Linked DNA regions of Homo sapiens: regions 2 and 3 are each linked to region 1. Evidence: promoter capture Hi-C in 16 types of primary human blood cells and fetal thymus (Javierre and others, 2016). All regions are on one chromosome and are shown on one strand. The core of a region is centred on a gene start or on the middle of the fragment in contact, and the rest is flanking DNA. Distances in the headings are between cores, read along the strand shown. Region 1 holds the start of WAPL (WAPL cohesin release factor). Region 2 overlaps CCSER2 (coiled-coil serine rich protein 2). Region 3 overlaps CCSER2 (coiled-coil serine rich protein 2).

Region 1 (4,231 bases), core at 664-3,163:
CATTACTTAACACAACCATCACATAAAAGCCCTCAAAAGGCACCAGTCTAAACAATAAGCCCTTCCACTTCAGCCTCATGCAGGCACTGACCCTGCCAAGTGTCCAGCACTAGAGAGGCCAGGCATAATAGACATATCCTTTGGTCTTGGGAGGATCACGACACCCTCCTACAGGAAGATCTTGCAATTGTTTCCTCACCTCTTCTGGTTTTTTGATCTTACCTTTTGCCTCTGATGATAATTACCCTTTAATTACCACCCACCACCTTGTCATCTAAATAATTATAGTAAGTGCAGCCTGCACCTCTGCCAGAAGATCTTTAAACAAAATGATAAAAACAAGTTCCTAAACTGCCAATTAAAAAAAGAGACAAAACTGACCCAAATAAAACAGTCATGTGCATCCCACCCACAGTGGAAGACATGGACTTGTTTTTCATATAAACTACAGAAGAAGTTGATTTATTTTGAAACAAGAAAAAGTACTGATTCAGTATTTAGGAAATTGTAAATGTCAGAATATAAATTCTGCAGTCAGGTAGGCAAAACAATCCAACCACACTAAAATCCACCTTAAATTCCTCTTGGGAAGAGCTGCAGGGTCTCTGAACTATTTTTCCTTTATTTGGAGTTTCCCCGATTATACCGGAGGGAGCTGGATAACTTCTGGGTGCATTAAAAGCAAATTATCCATTTGTGGGAGAAGGGCGGGCTTCTCACTGAAAGCAATTAGTAGTTTTCTAATTTCCCAGGTGGGTCTCCATTAACCGCCTAACAAACACCAAGGCTGTCGGAGTCCGACGAATCATGCACCTCTCTTAGGGGGAACTGGTTGCGCTACTCTTTAGAACGCTGTTTTCCCATGGTAGCCTTAAAAAAAACTTACCAATTTTCTGAATTAGGTAACACATTGAATGGGAAAAACCTAAGATAGCACAAAAAGGCGTACAGCGAAAAATTAAGACTCCTTCCTCCCGTCATCCGCCACCTCACTGTCCTCCCTAGAGGCAATCGCTGGTTCACTTCTTTAAACTTTTTATTATGGAAAATTTCAGATACACAAGTAAAGAGACTGTATGATGAGCACATATGCTCGCATCACGCAGCTTCAACGATGAAAAACGTTCTGCCAGCTTGTTTTATTCCTCTCCCCCAGTTTTCATAGGCGTATTTTACAGTCCTGACACCAGATCACTCTGTCAACACATCAGTAGGTCTTAAAAAAAAAAAAACAAAAAACCATAACCACATTACCGTTACCACACCCAACAAAGTTAATGATAATTGCTCAATACCATCCAATATTCTCGGGGCCACTTTCAATCGGTGAGGGGCAGACGGACTTAGAGGAAGGACTGCAGGGCTGGAGGGGCGCGAAAAAGCGAGGGGCGACGCTGCTCGTGGCCTCGGGTGTCCGGCGCCTCGCGGTCCCCGCCATCGTCACCTACGCCGGGCCAGGACCGACCAGGCCAGGTCGAGGGCGGCTCTTGACCACGCGCCCCCTGCCTCCCAGCTCCCGGGCGGCGGCCTCCGCAGGCCCGGCACAGCTGCACAGCCCGCGGTCCCCAGGCACCGGCGGGTCCCTGGAGGGGAAGCGATTGATACAGCTGCCTGCACTGCGCCACCCGCCCGGCTGCCCATCTCCGTGGCACCTGCGTCTCCCGGCTGGGCCGGGAGCTAGAAGTGGCTGCCGAGACCGGGAGGGCCCGGCCAGTCGCCCGCTCCCGCTCCCGCGCCTGGTCCTCGGCCCGCGACCTCGCGGACCTGGACTACAACTCCCGTCGGGCTCCGCGGCCGGGCCAATGGCGGGCGCCGGAGCATGCGGGGCGCAGCGCCTGCGCGGCGGTTTGAGTAAGCGGCTGCGCGATTGGCTGCGGGGTCGGGCGGCCGCGCGGGGACTGTGGGAAGCGGAGTGACGGAGCGAGCGGCTGTTGGAGGAAGGAGGTGGGGGCCGGGAGCGCAAATGGCGTTGAGATGGTTCAGGGCCCTGTTCAAACTCCAGCACTGACCATTCACCGGCGGAAGCGGCGGCGCAGGAGGCGGCGGCGGCCCAGCGGGGGCACACAGCAGGCTCTGTTACCAGCTCCAGCAGTGGCGGCCAGCGAGAGCTAGGCCTGGGCCCGGCCGGCGGCGCTCGAGGCGGGGAGGGAAGTTGCGGGGCCGCCGCTCCTGCCCCCCCAACCGGGCTTCCTATTTACCGAAAGCAGAGTCCCTCGCCTCTCTCGGCTCTCACCTGCCGGCCCTGCTCTCCCGCGCGAGGGTTCCGCGCCCGCCCGCGGGCCGTAGGGAGCGGGAGAGGCGGAGGCGGCCCGTGGCCAAAGCACCCGCCAGGCTCCGAGGGTAAGTGAGGTGTCGGGCGGCCGCCTAGGCCGGGAGGGAGCCGGGAGGGTGGGGGAGGCAGAGGCTGGGAGCGGGCGGTGGAAGTCTCACTGCCTCGCCCACCGGGCCGCTGAGGAAGTTGGGCAGGGGAATGACCTGAGGAACTCTTTTTTTCCCCTTTTATTTTCCTTTTTCGGAGTTCTTTTTCGGGCGACTGCTGATTGACTTAGCTCCCCAAACCCAGTCAAGTGTGTTGATTTCAGCCCCGAGTCCTTTCCCGTGGTTTCATCCGCCTCTGGCCGCCACTGGGGCCTTGCACTGCCTTAAGGATTCGGTGGCAGAGGCTTCCGGGGCGTCGAAAGTGACCTCCCTTTCCTGGGCGGCGCGGGTTGGGAGGAGAAAAGTTGCATTGAGTGTCTAGTCCGAGGGGTCCATCGCGCCCACTGCCCGTGGCGCCCCGGCTGTCCCCAGGTGAGGATTTCTGGTTAGTCAGGTTCGTCCCGTCCGCTTTCCATCTTTAATGGAAGCCCTTAAAGCCTTTGGGGATCGGGAAGACGCTAGATTAGGGTGGGAGTGAAGTATAAAGGCTTTTTGCTTTTTTTTTTTTTTTTTTTTTTTTAAATCACAGCGCACTTCTCTCAAAATTCGACCTGATTTTGGGCTAGGGCAAAAGCCGAACGACCGAAAAGACTTAGTCGTCAATCATTCTTTCCTTTTTAGTTAGGACAGTCTTTGGAGTTTAAAGGTTGAGCAAGATTGTGTACTTGAAACACTTAAAATTTAACTTCAAGGACGTCTGCACACTTATTTTGGAATCTGTAGTGCTTTACGCTTAGATAATGCCATTGCAAAGACATTTTATTGTGGGAAACGATAAAGGCAATCAGGAGGAGATATTATATAATGAACTTCTCTGTACCCATCGCTTGGATTTAGCAGTGACTATTAAACAAATTTATTTCATCTATACACTTCTCATTCCTTAATGTTGGAAAATCGCTGACGTTATTTCATCAGTATTTCACTATGTATTTGTAAAAGACGTGGTCTTTTGGCACAAAATTATTATTATCATTATTATTATTATTTTGAGACGGAGTTTCGCCCTTGTTGCCCAGGCTGGAGTGCAGTGGCGCGATCTCAGCTCACCGCAACCTCCGCCTCCCAGGTTCAATTGATTCTCCTGCCCCAGCCTCCGGAGTAGCTGGGATTACAGGCATGCGCCACCACGCCCGGCTAATTTTCTATTTTTAGTAGAAACGTGGTTTCTCCATGTTGGTCAGGCTGGTCTCGAACTCCTGGCCTCAGGTGATCTGCCCGTCTTGGCTTCCCAGAGTGCTGGAATTACAGGCGTGACCTGCCGCCCCCAGCCAGCACAAAATTATTTTTTATCACATAAAATAATTAAGTCCTTAGTGTCAGGTATTCATCTGAAGACTTCAAACTTTCAACAGTGAATGCTTTGTGGTTATAGAACCATTTTAACAGTTTTTCTGATGTTGGCATAAAGGAACTCAAGTCTAGATTTTTGGTTTGGCCTTTGGTTAGTATTTTTAGATGATTAGCACATAAGTGAATCCAAAACATTCCATCTTTGTTGGTGTGTATGTGTACGTACACTTACAGACCTGCAGGATCTCAGCTTTACATTCTTGAAGGAACAGAGAATCGATTTTTATTTTGTTGTCCGTGGTAGTTGCCCAGTATCCTGTTTTGTTTAGGCTGTACTTAACAAGAAAGACAGTAAGACTTGTTAGTGTTAGAGCTGCAGTGGAAGATGAAATACATCTCCTTCAGGAACACTGTTTTCTCTTAACGCAGATATGTATGATGACTAAATTATTACCTTGTCAAATTAAAATTGGGTTCTCACCAAACATGGGGGGGGGTCTACTACTGAATTTATATAAAA
Region 2 (4,231 bases), core at 473-2,972, 2.1 Mb after region 1:
GCTGGGATTACAGGCATGAGCCACCATGCCTGGCCCCCATCTAAATCTTTATCAAACCTGCATAATATCATCAACAACCAGAAGCTATAAAGGACTAAAACCTGTAGTGGAAAGCACATTATTAGACTCCCTAAATCTCTATCAGTCCCTGTAACATTCTCATCCTCCCAGCCAAAAAACTGTAATGGGTGTGTATAATTGTTCGGGACTTAAGAGCCATAAAAAGAAAAATTTCCCACTTTCCTATAGTACCAAACCTAGATACTATTTTATCTTTGGTGCCTCAGGAGGCTACATATTTTAGATCCATGTTCTTACATGCTTTCTTTAATGTTCCTTTACTCAAAATAGCCAATAGTTGTTTGCCTTCTTCTAGAAAAATCTAAAGTACTGTTTATGTGGGATGTTCCCAAGAGTTCCCTCCTACTTTTCACAAGTCCCCAATCAAGACCTCAAAGACTAAATTTCCCTGTGATTCTACTTTTATCTAATATTTGGGTAACTTTCTGTTGTCTGCTAAAGATAAGGCAGGCTCTAAGATCCTTTCTTTCTACTTCCACTCAGAAAGGGCATAAAGTTTCCAAGAGAAGTTGTTACAATTCTGTCAAAGTAAAATGCATTACCTAGCATGTGATTTATTCCGAGGAAGTAAATCCCTCACTCCTCACTACCAGCCCTAAAAATTACCATTAAATTTCCCAGATCATCAAGTCTCATTATTCTTCCCCTATAACTTTCCAATGGTTTATGTTTTTCCTCTGTGTTCTACAATATTTTTCTACTTGATCTTTCAAGTCACTAATTCAGATTCAATAGCAGTGATGCTTTCTGTCATTTACTGAATAAACTGTTCTGTTGGGAAGTCTTGTCTTTTAACTCCAGAAAGAATTGTGCTGCAATTCAATCTAAGTGATTATCTCCTTTGACTACTCTAATCCTCAGGGTTCTGTCATTTTCCTTGTTCTTCCTCAGTGTTGCCTGTGATTTTTTTCTTTTTCAGCACTAGAACTCAGCTGTTTGCCAGAGCATACTAAGCGACAGCAGAACCACAAAAAGGTGTAACATTCTCTGTCTCTGTGAGACAGTGGTGGATATTGTCCTCAACTTTTCATTCTCTCCTTACAGAATTATACATGCAATGTCCTCTATCATGTGCAGAGCCTTCATTATGAAGAGTACACTTCCCAGTCTCAAAGGTGTTAGGTTTGGCCATGTTACCTGCTTTGGCCAAAAGAATGTGCTTAGAAATAAGTGTCCTCTGTGAATGAAGATAGTTGTCAGGTTAGCTCCAGGGGTGTGGGTGTTTTTCTTTATTTTATTTTTTTTTTTTTGAGAAGGGAGCTGGTTTTATTTTAATTTTATGGGCTCCTTTCTCCCGTTTTTTGGTGATCTAACTGCATTGGTTAAAAGCAGCTAAGCAGTTCTTTAGAATACGCTCTCTAACCAAATCTAACTTTATTTAGACAATGTAGATGGACAAGCTTGACTGTTTGAACTAAAATGGGAACATTAAACAAATATCACAGCCCTCACTAACAACATTGTGACTTTGCTGTCAAGTGTAGATTCCCCTCTTCAAAAAATCTTGTGACCATTTCGTATGGCTTATCTGGAAACTTCTGTAAATCTTACGTTTTAGTAAAATATTTTTTGTTATTCTAAAAAAAAAATGTGCTAGTTCTTAGCTAAGACTTTAAGAGACATAATATGCATGTTTCTGCTCATCCTGTTGCATTTCTGCTGTCGTGAGAACAACCTGCCCCACAGTGGTCCTGGTCTCAAAATGAAGAAACATGGAACAGACCTCAAGCTAGTCCCATAGCCTGAGCTTCCCAGCTAATCCTTAGATCCATGAATGAGAAAAATACACGTTTATTTTGAAAGCAACTGAGATTTTGAGAATGCCATACAGCATTCTGGCAGGAAAAATAAAAGCCTCACCAGTATGACAAATATAAGCTTGTAGTAAAGCAGCAAAGCAGGCTACTAACACCCCAGTGAAGCACTGGAACAGACACCTCCCCTCTCTGAAATATTCCTTGCATTTTTCTAGCACCATGGATAAAAGGATCCCACTCACCATTTTCACTTTATTTCCAGCCCATGGAGGCCTGTGAGACCAGGCAAATGTTGATTGACAGGAAATTCTCAGATTTCTAAGGGCAGCCCTCTCCCCAGGAGTATCCCCATTTCAACCTTTGCCTCCAGGGCTTTTTTATGCTGGTTTCTGGTTCTCCAACAGTCTTTAAGATAAAAAAAATCCTACAAGTGCTATGTCACTGGAGTGAAAAGAACCTAAGGCCCCTCTCCCATATGGATTACCTAAAGCCTCACCCCAGCAGTTACTTGGCTCTAGAGAGAAAGATAGACTAGAATTGGGAGTAAAATGTACAGAATGATCCATTCAGAAGGTCATCACATTCCCAGAATTAATCTCTATAAAATATTTATCAAATTAAGATATTATAGTGTTTCACAAGTAAGATGGTATGTTTCTGTAAATACATTTCTTCCTAAAATCAAAATGAGATAAAGGGAGGAAAAACTGGGTACATACACAGAAAAAAAGACAACTCTTATCTGCAACTTACTTTATGGTATACAATGTTATTGGATGATAGAGAATTATATCTAAGACTTACAAAATCAGGTTTTAAATATTTAAGTTAGTTTGCAAATGAACCTATTTTACCTCACTTAAGACTGATTCTCAGTCTGAAAGGCTCCATTAAGATTAAGAAGTCTGCAAGTAACAAATATCAAATTGGCTACAGTCGAGTAGCTCAAGTATATACCTCTGAAGGTTCAATATTGTCTCAACTTACCATTTTCAAGAGGTGCATCCTCAGGCAGATCCACATCAAGCATAAGATCATCATCCTCAAGGTCACATGATTCAAGATTATTCAAAATATCCTGTGAACAAAAGCAGTAAAAAATATACCATAATCTAGCTCTAAGGATATGTCAACCATTATTTTTTAAAATCGAACTATATGATATCCTGAATTCACTCATTATCTGCACTGAAAGAATAAAATAGGTTTTCAAGTTTTTTAAAAATAAAAATAGATTCAACTAGTTTAATTAAGCTATTTCTAACATCCTTCTCCTAGTCTTCCTCCTAGTCTTTCCTCCCCAATAGATTTTTATTTTCATATTAAAAAACTTTTAAGTCCATGTTTTTAACATCTTCCCTGGTAAAATACTGAAGAATCAAAAATAGTAAAGAATTGCCCAAAATTTATTCATAATTGGTATAAGAGGTGAGAGGCTGTTCTATTATTTCCAGGGATTGGACCACTTACATAAATAATAAAATAAGTCTTTAACAATGTGGTTATTCCATTTCCTTTCTTGTGCCAAACCCATCTCCTGTTACCATTAAGCACTCTGTCACCTCCTTGGCTTGACTCAATTTGTTCTTTTTCTATGATAAGACTAGACTATTCAACCTAGCATATGCAGTCCCTGCTGGCTTTTATTTGCAACCTTACTAGCTATTATCTCTTCTTAAAAAAGTAGTGTTTTATTTTCAAAGACTGTTGTTCTGAAGCCTAAAGAACTGAATAAACAAAAACTAAGGTTAAGGTAATAAACTCAGTTTGACCTATAGCCCACTGGTGCGTCCTTACAATCCAAGAATGAATCCAAATATCATAAGACCTTTCCTTAGTATATACAAGTAAAAAGATCAAAAGTCCAACAAACTTTTAAAAGACTGAGACATCATGGTCATAAAAAACTCTTTTTTTTTTGAGACGGAGTCTCGCTGTCACCCAGGCTGGAGTGCAATGGCGCGATCTCGGCTCACTGCAAGCTCCGCCTCCTGGGTTCACGCCATTCTCCTGCCTCAGCCTCCCGAGTAGCTGGGACTACAGGCGCCCACCACCATGCCTGGCTAATTTTTTTGTGTATTTTTGGTAGAGACGGGGTTTCACTGTGTTGGCCAGGATGGTCTCGATCTCCTGACCTCATGATCTGCCTGCCTCGGCCTCCCAAAGTGCTGGAATTACAGACTTGAGCTACCGCGCCCAGCCAAAAAAACTCTTATAGAAGGGAAATATCTACTTTATTACAGACAATATGAATAAAATTAAAACTGTTTCCTATGTTGGGTGTTCCATGCAAATACATTCAATTTTGTGTTGGGCCCTCCAAAGACTAAAAGTAACTAGAAAAATTATTTGAAAAACAAAATCTCTGGAAATTTTTTTTTCATTTTTAAAAA
Region 3 (4,231 bases), core at 1,287-3,786, 2.1 Mb after region 1:
AACTTAAAATTTTAAAATTAAAAATAATTTTTAATTTCAGAAAAATTAAGGATTTATAAATCCAAACAAATCCCAACATTAGAATGATATGTAATTTACATTAGGTAAAATGGGCAGTAAGTTTTCTCCAACTAGTGGCTCAGAAGTTTACACCACTTAGTTTCCATTTCACCGCTCATTCATTTTAATCTTTATCTCCTTATTCTTGAGTTATTTTTCAATTTACCTCTCAAATATCTGAAATGTATTAACTGGGTCTGTCAAGACATTAAAGGTCAGAATTTACCTTTGTATATAAATAAAAACTTGCTTGGATATAAAATAGGAGGTTCATAACCTCTTTTCTGAATTGCACAAGACACAATATCTTGTGCTCTGTAATATATTTTTGTAAAAATCGAAGCTTACATAATTTTCTTTGTTGTCTTTTTTCTTCTCCCTGAAAGTTGATTGGGTTCTTGTCTTTGGCTTTGAACACAAACACTAGGCCTTATTATTTTCCTTTTTAATTTTGTATGTGACAGGACCTCAATTTGTAATATTATGCTACTTTTTATTCAGTTTCATAAATTTTCTTTGTTCCTTTAATCATAATATTTGATTTATCTGCTCTATTTATTCATGAAATGGATCTCCGTGAGCTGACCCCAGTGGCTCAGAGCTCAGTATATGATATCCTTTATATTTTCAGTGAGATTAATATTTCACCAAATTGCTTTGTTAGACCAAAATGTGCTCTTGACTCACAACAAAGATTTCCTTTTGAGTGTTGTGATTTTTAGGCCATTATTTTCTTTTTATCATGGTCTTTTATATACAAACTAAGTAATAATTAAATTCAAGACACCATACATATTGTTTTCATATGAGACTAATATGTGAAATTGCACAATTATTAGATTATGAAGATTCAAACATGACTCTGATGGATCATTCAATAGCATCCATAGGAAATAAACATTTTCTTGGAGTACCCTTCAATCTGATAGTGATGCAGCTACCTAAATCTGAATACCCAGGCTAATTCTGCTCACAGAGAGAGAAAATACCCTGTTCTCAACTCACAAGTACTTGTTTCTTTAAATATATCTGAAGAAAAGCCATTTACCCTTGTATCAACAAAATGAATGTAAATTGGTAAATTTTAAATACCCAAAACTGAGGTCGCTGAATCAATGAAGAATTTTCCAAACCAAATACTTAATATTTAGATTAAAAGTTAAATCACATACTTTTATTACAGTGCATATAATCTAAAAATAATATAAAAGTGCAACTTTGAGAGCCAAAAATAAAGCTAAACTCTACTTCTGGCTCAGAGTTTTATGAAAAACACATTTCACCCAGTTTGAAAAGTCTCTATACATTATACTACAATACTTACAAGCTGAAGTTCTAATAGTTGGATCTTTTCATCTTTTTTCTTTATTTCGTCTTTAAGTTGTTTTATTTCATTTAATAAATCTTCATTCTGAAATATTAAAAAATCTTTAGATGAGGTATTTAAAATACCATAATGAGAGGCATGAAATCAATGATGAAGACACAGTAATGAACAAACTATCTGGTCATTTAGGGGGGAAATCCTCTATTAAAAAAAAATCTAAGATTTCATCCGGTAATGAAGTGTGACATGTTGACAATGAGCAATAGTAGCAGCAACAGTTAGCATTCATTGAGAACTTATTAGATGTTAAAAACTAAGCACTTGCACTTATTTAAGCATTTGATTCTACCCACACTCCTGAGGTAGGTACTGTAATCCTTTTTTACATATAAGAAAACTGGGACATAGGCCACAGAGTAAAAAAAAAAAAAAAAAAAAAAAATCACATACAAAAAAGCAACTTCAGCTAGACTTCAAGGGATACATAAGAGTAGCCTGTGAAAGAAAACAAAGGGCATGAGAAGCAGAGGCAATAGAATAATTAAAGGCACAGAGGCATTTCATGGCTGGTTTACAAATCAGCAAAAAAGATAAATGTGCCTGAAGGGTAACAAGGAAGATTCTTTGACCATGAGCCACTTTTTGAGGAGTACCTCCTGAATCAAAGAGAGAACACCTTCTCAATTGGATCTATAAGAAATGCCTAGTACTATTAAATGGAAACCTACTGTCAAGTTAAGCAGGAATCCAGTTACATTTCCAAAGTGTTAATCATTACCCTATAGTTAGCCCATGTTGTTTGTGTTTCATTATTCAGTTATCCAAAAGAGAAGGTAATATAAGCAAGGAAATTCAAATATAGATGTGAATAACATCTTTCCAGAGAGAAAAACAAGTAAGCAAATAATTAGGATGTGTTGTAACTAAGCAAAGAATGTCATCCCCTTTAGCTACATCGGGAACAAAAACATATATTCTCTTTAACAAAGAGATCAGAAATAGACATTTTACAAAGCCTTGAACATATCACATAAGCATCCCAAACAATGTGGAAGATTTTTAAAATGCTATTATGTACACTATAATTGAAAAAGACTTTATTACATACAAAAGATAATCTCCACTTGTTTTTAAGTTTAGGAATTATAAAAATTCATAAAGACAAAAAAGATGGATTGCAGATCATGAAAGATACATTTCTAAGAATACATTTAGAAGGACACATTTCTAAGTTATGTAGCAAATATAGCTATTCAAAAGAAATGATTTATATTTAATTATATAACATTTTAAGGCACCTTAACAATTAACATTAGTTAAAAGCTATTGATAATCCATGCAAATATGACAGAGGATTTATATCTCAAGTATATTAACAGCCTGTCTAAACATTTAAGATCATTTTTAAGGCCTCAACAGACAAGTAGCCAGTTCTCACAAATATACATATAACTGGTAAAATGTTGTATTTAACTTGTTGAATAAAGTATTGTTTTATAAATATTAAGTTAGTGGTGAAATACCCAATGTAATTAACCAGACTGCAGGAAAAAATGGCACACCATCAGACATAGCAGTTAACCTTTTTGGACAAATATACATCTGTATGTTTAAGAGCCATCAAAATACCTGCACTCTGATTCAGTTATCCTACTCCTAGGAATCTATATGAAAGAAATGATCCTTAGAAAGAGAAAACCTATAACAAGGTGTTATCTGAAAGTTAACAAGTTTACAATTGTCCTGTAAGAGGACAACGGGAATAAAATGTAGCAACTTCATGGAACACTATATAGCCATCATTCATGCAGTCACCAGTAGGTTCGGACTGTGTTACACAGGAAATGGACCCAAAAATGAAATCAACAAATAATGTGCTAAGAACATTAATAGCCAGCATGTATATAGCACTTGCTGTATGGCAGGCACTGCTCTAAGGATTTTTTTCCCCCACCAAAACCATTTCATTGTTTTAATTTTACTTTTAATTGACAGATAACATTGTACATATTCATGGTTTACACAGTAATGTTTTGACACATATAATTTATAGTGATTAGATCAGGGCAATTAGCATTTCCATCATCTCAAACATTTATCATCTCTTTGCATTGGGAACACTGATTTTATATATAAAGATAGGCAAAGAAGTGACATCACACATCAGAAATGAGGGACTACAGTGGAGTTCCAAAGGATAAGCACAAGATTCAGAAGATAGAGGAGTGTGGTAGGCTTGGAATTTTAGTTAAAGGATTCTAAGTGCCATACAATATAATACAAAGGTGAGGGAAAGCATAGCACGTCTGGAGAAGTATAAGCAGTGTCGCTGTTGCACATAGGTTCTGATTAATGTTGAGAAGCAATTGGCTAGTAAACTATGCAAGGGCCAGATCACAGAGAGCCATGACTATCACGCATGGCCTTAGCTAGGGAGTGACAGATTTGCATTTGAGATGGCTTTGACAGGTGTTTAGAGGACAAATTTTAACAACAGCAAGAAAACTGAGCTAGGCACTTATGAAAATATTATAATAATCTAGATAAGAGTAGGAGCCTGACCCAAGAGAGTGATAATATAGATGAAAAGGGAGAGAAGAAATCAAAATTTTGAGATTTTTGGCAATTCACTGCATGTGAGAAAAGAACAGAGGAGCATTCAAGGGTGACACTGTATTTCTAGCTTGAGTGACATGGTGAATAGCTGCGCCAACAAAAGAAATGGTGAATACAGAAGAACAACAAGTATGTCCAAAGAGGAATATGTGTGAATTTTAAATATATTGTTACACAGGTGGGTGGGCAGTAGGGGGGAGGTGGGGACATGATGGAGCCAGAAGAGAT

Evidence for each region. The method cuts DNA at HindIII sites, captures the fragments that hold promoters and counts their contacts. A CHiCAGO score of 5 or more calls a contact.
Region 2: a contact is called between a fragment that was not itself captured here and the fragment with the promoter of WAPL in region 1, in 1 of 17 cell types (total CD4 T cells). The highest score is 5.2, in total CD4 T cells.
Region 3: a fragment that was not itself captured here is called in contact with the fragment with the promoter of WAPL in region 1 in 1 of 17 cell types (naive CD8 T cells); the score reaches 7.7 in naive CD8 T cells.

The regions. Positions count from the first base shown.
Region 1 is chr10:86,519,474-86,523,704 of GRCh38, reverse strand. It overlaps WAPL (WAPL cohesin release factor), which reads left to right and starts at 1,913. Exons shown (of 19, transcript NM_015045.5): 1 at 1,913-2,340. It overlaps WAPL-DT (WAPL divergent transcript), which reads right to left and starts at 1,758. Exons shown (of 2, transcript NR_186498.1): 1 at 1,296-1,758; 2 at 1-1,196. RefSeq lists silencers at 1,300-1,859, 2,000-2,419. The HindIII fragment of the contact is 16,574 bases long and covers 1-4,231 here.
Region 2 is chr10:84,416,456-84,420,686 of GRCh38, reverse strand. It overlaps CCSER2 (coiled-coil serine rich protein 2), which reads right to left. Exons shown (of 10, transcript NM_001284240.2): 4 at 2,826-2,916. Among named protein-coding and RNA genes, the nearest start is that of CCSER2, 90 kb to the right of the region's middle. The HindIII fragment of the contact is 478 bases long and covers 1,484-1,961 here.
Region 3 is chr10:84,467,612-84,471,842 of GRCh38, reverse strand. It overlaps CCSER2 (coiled-coil serine rich protein 2), which reads right to left. Exons shown (of 10, transcript NM_001284240.2): 8 at 1,385-1,471. Among named protein-coding and RNA genes, the nearest start is that of CCSER2, 140 kb to the right of the region's middle. The HindIII fragment of the contact is 4,261 bases long and covers 406-4,231 here.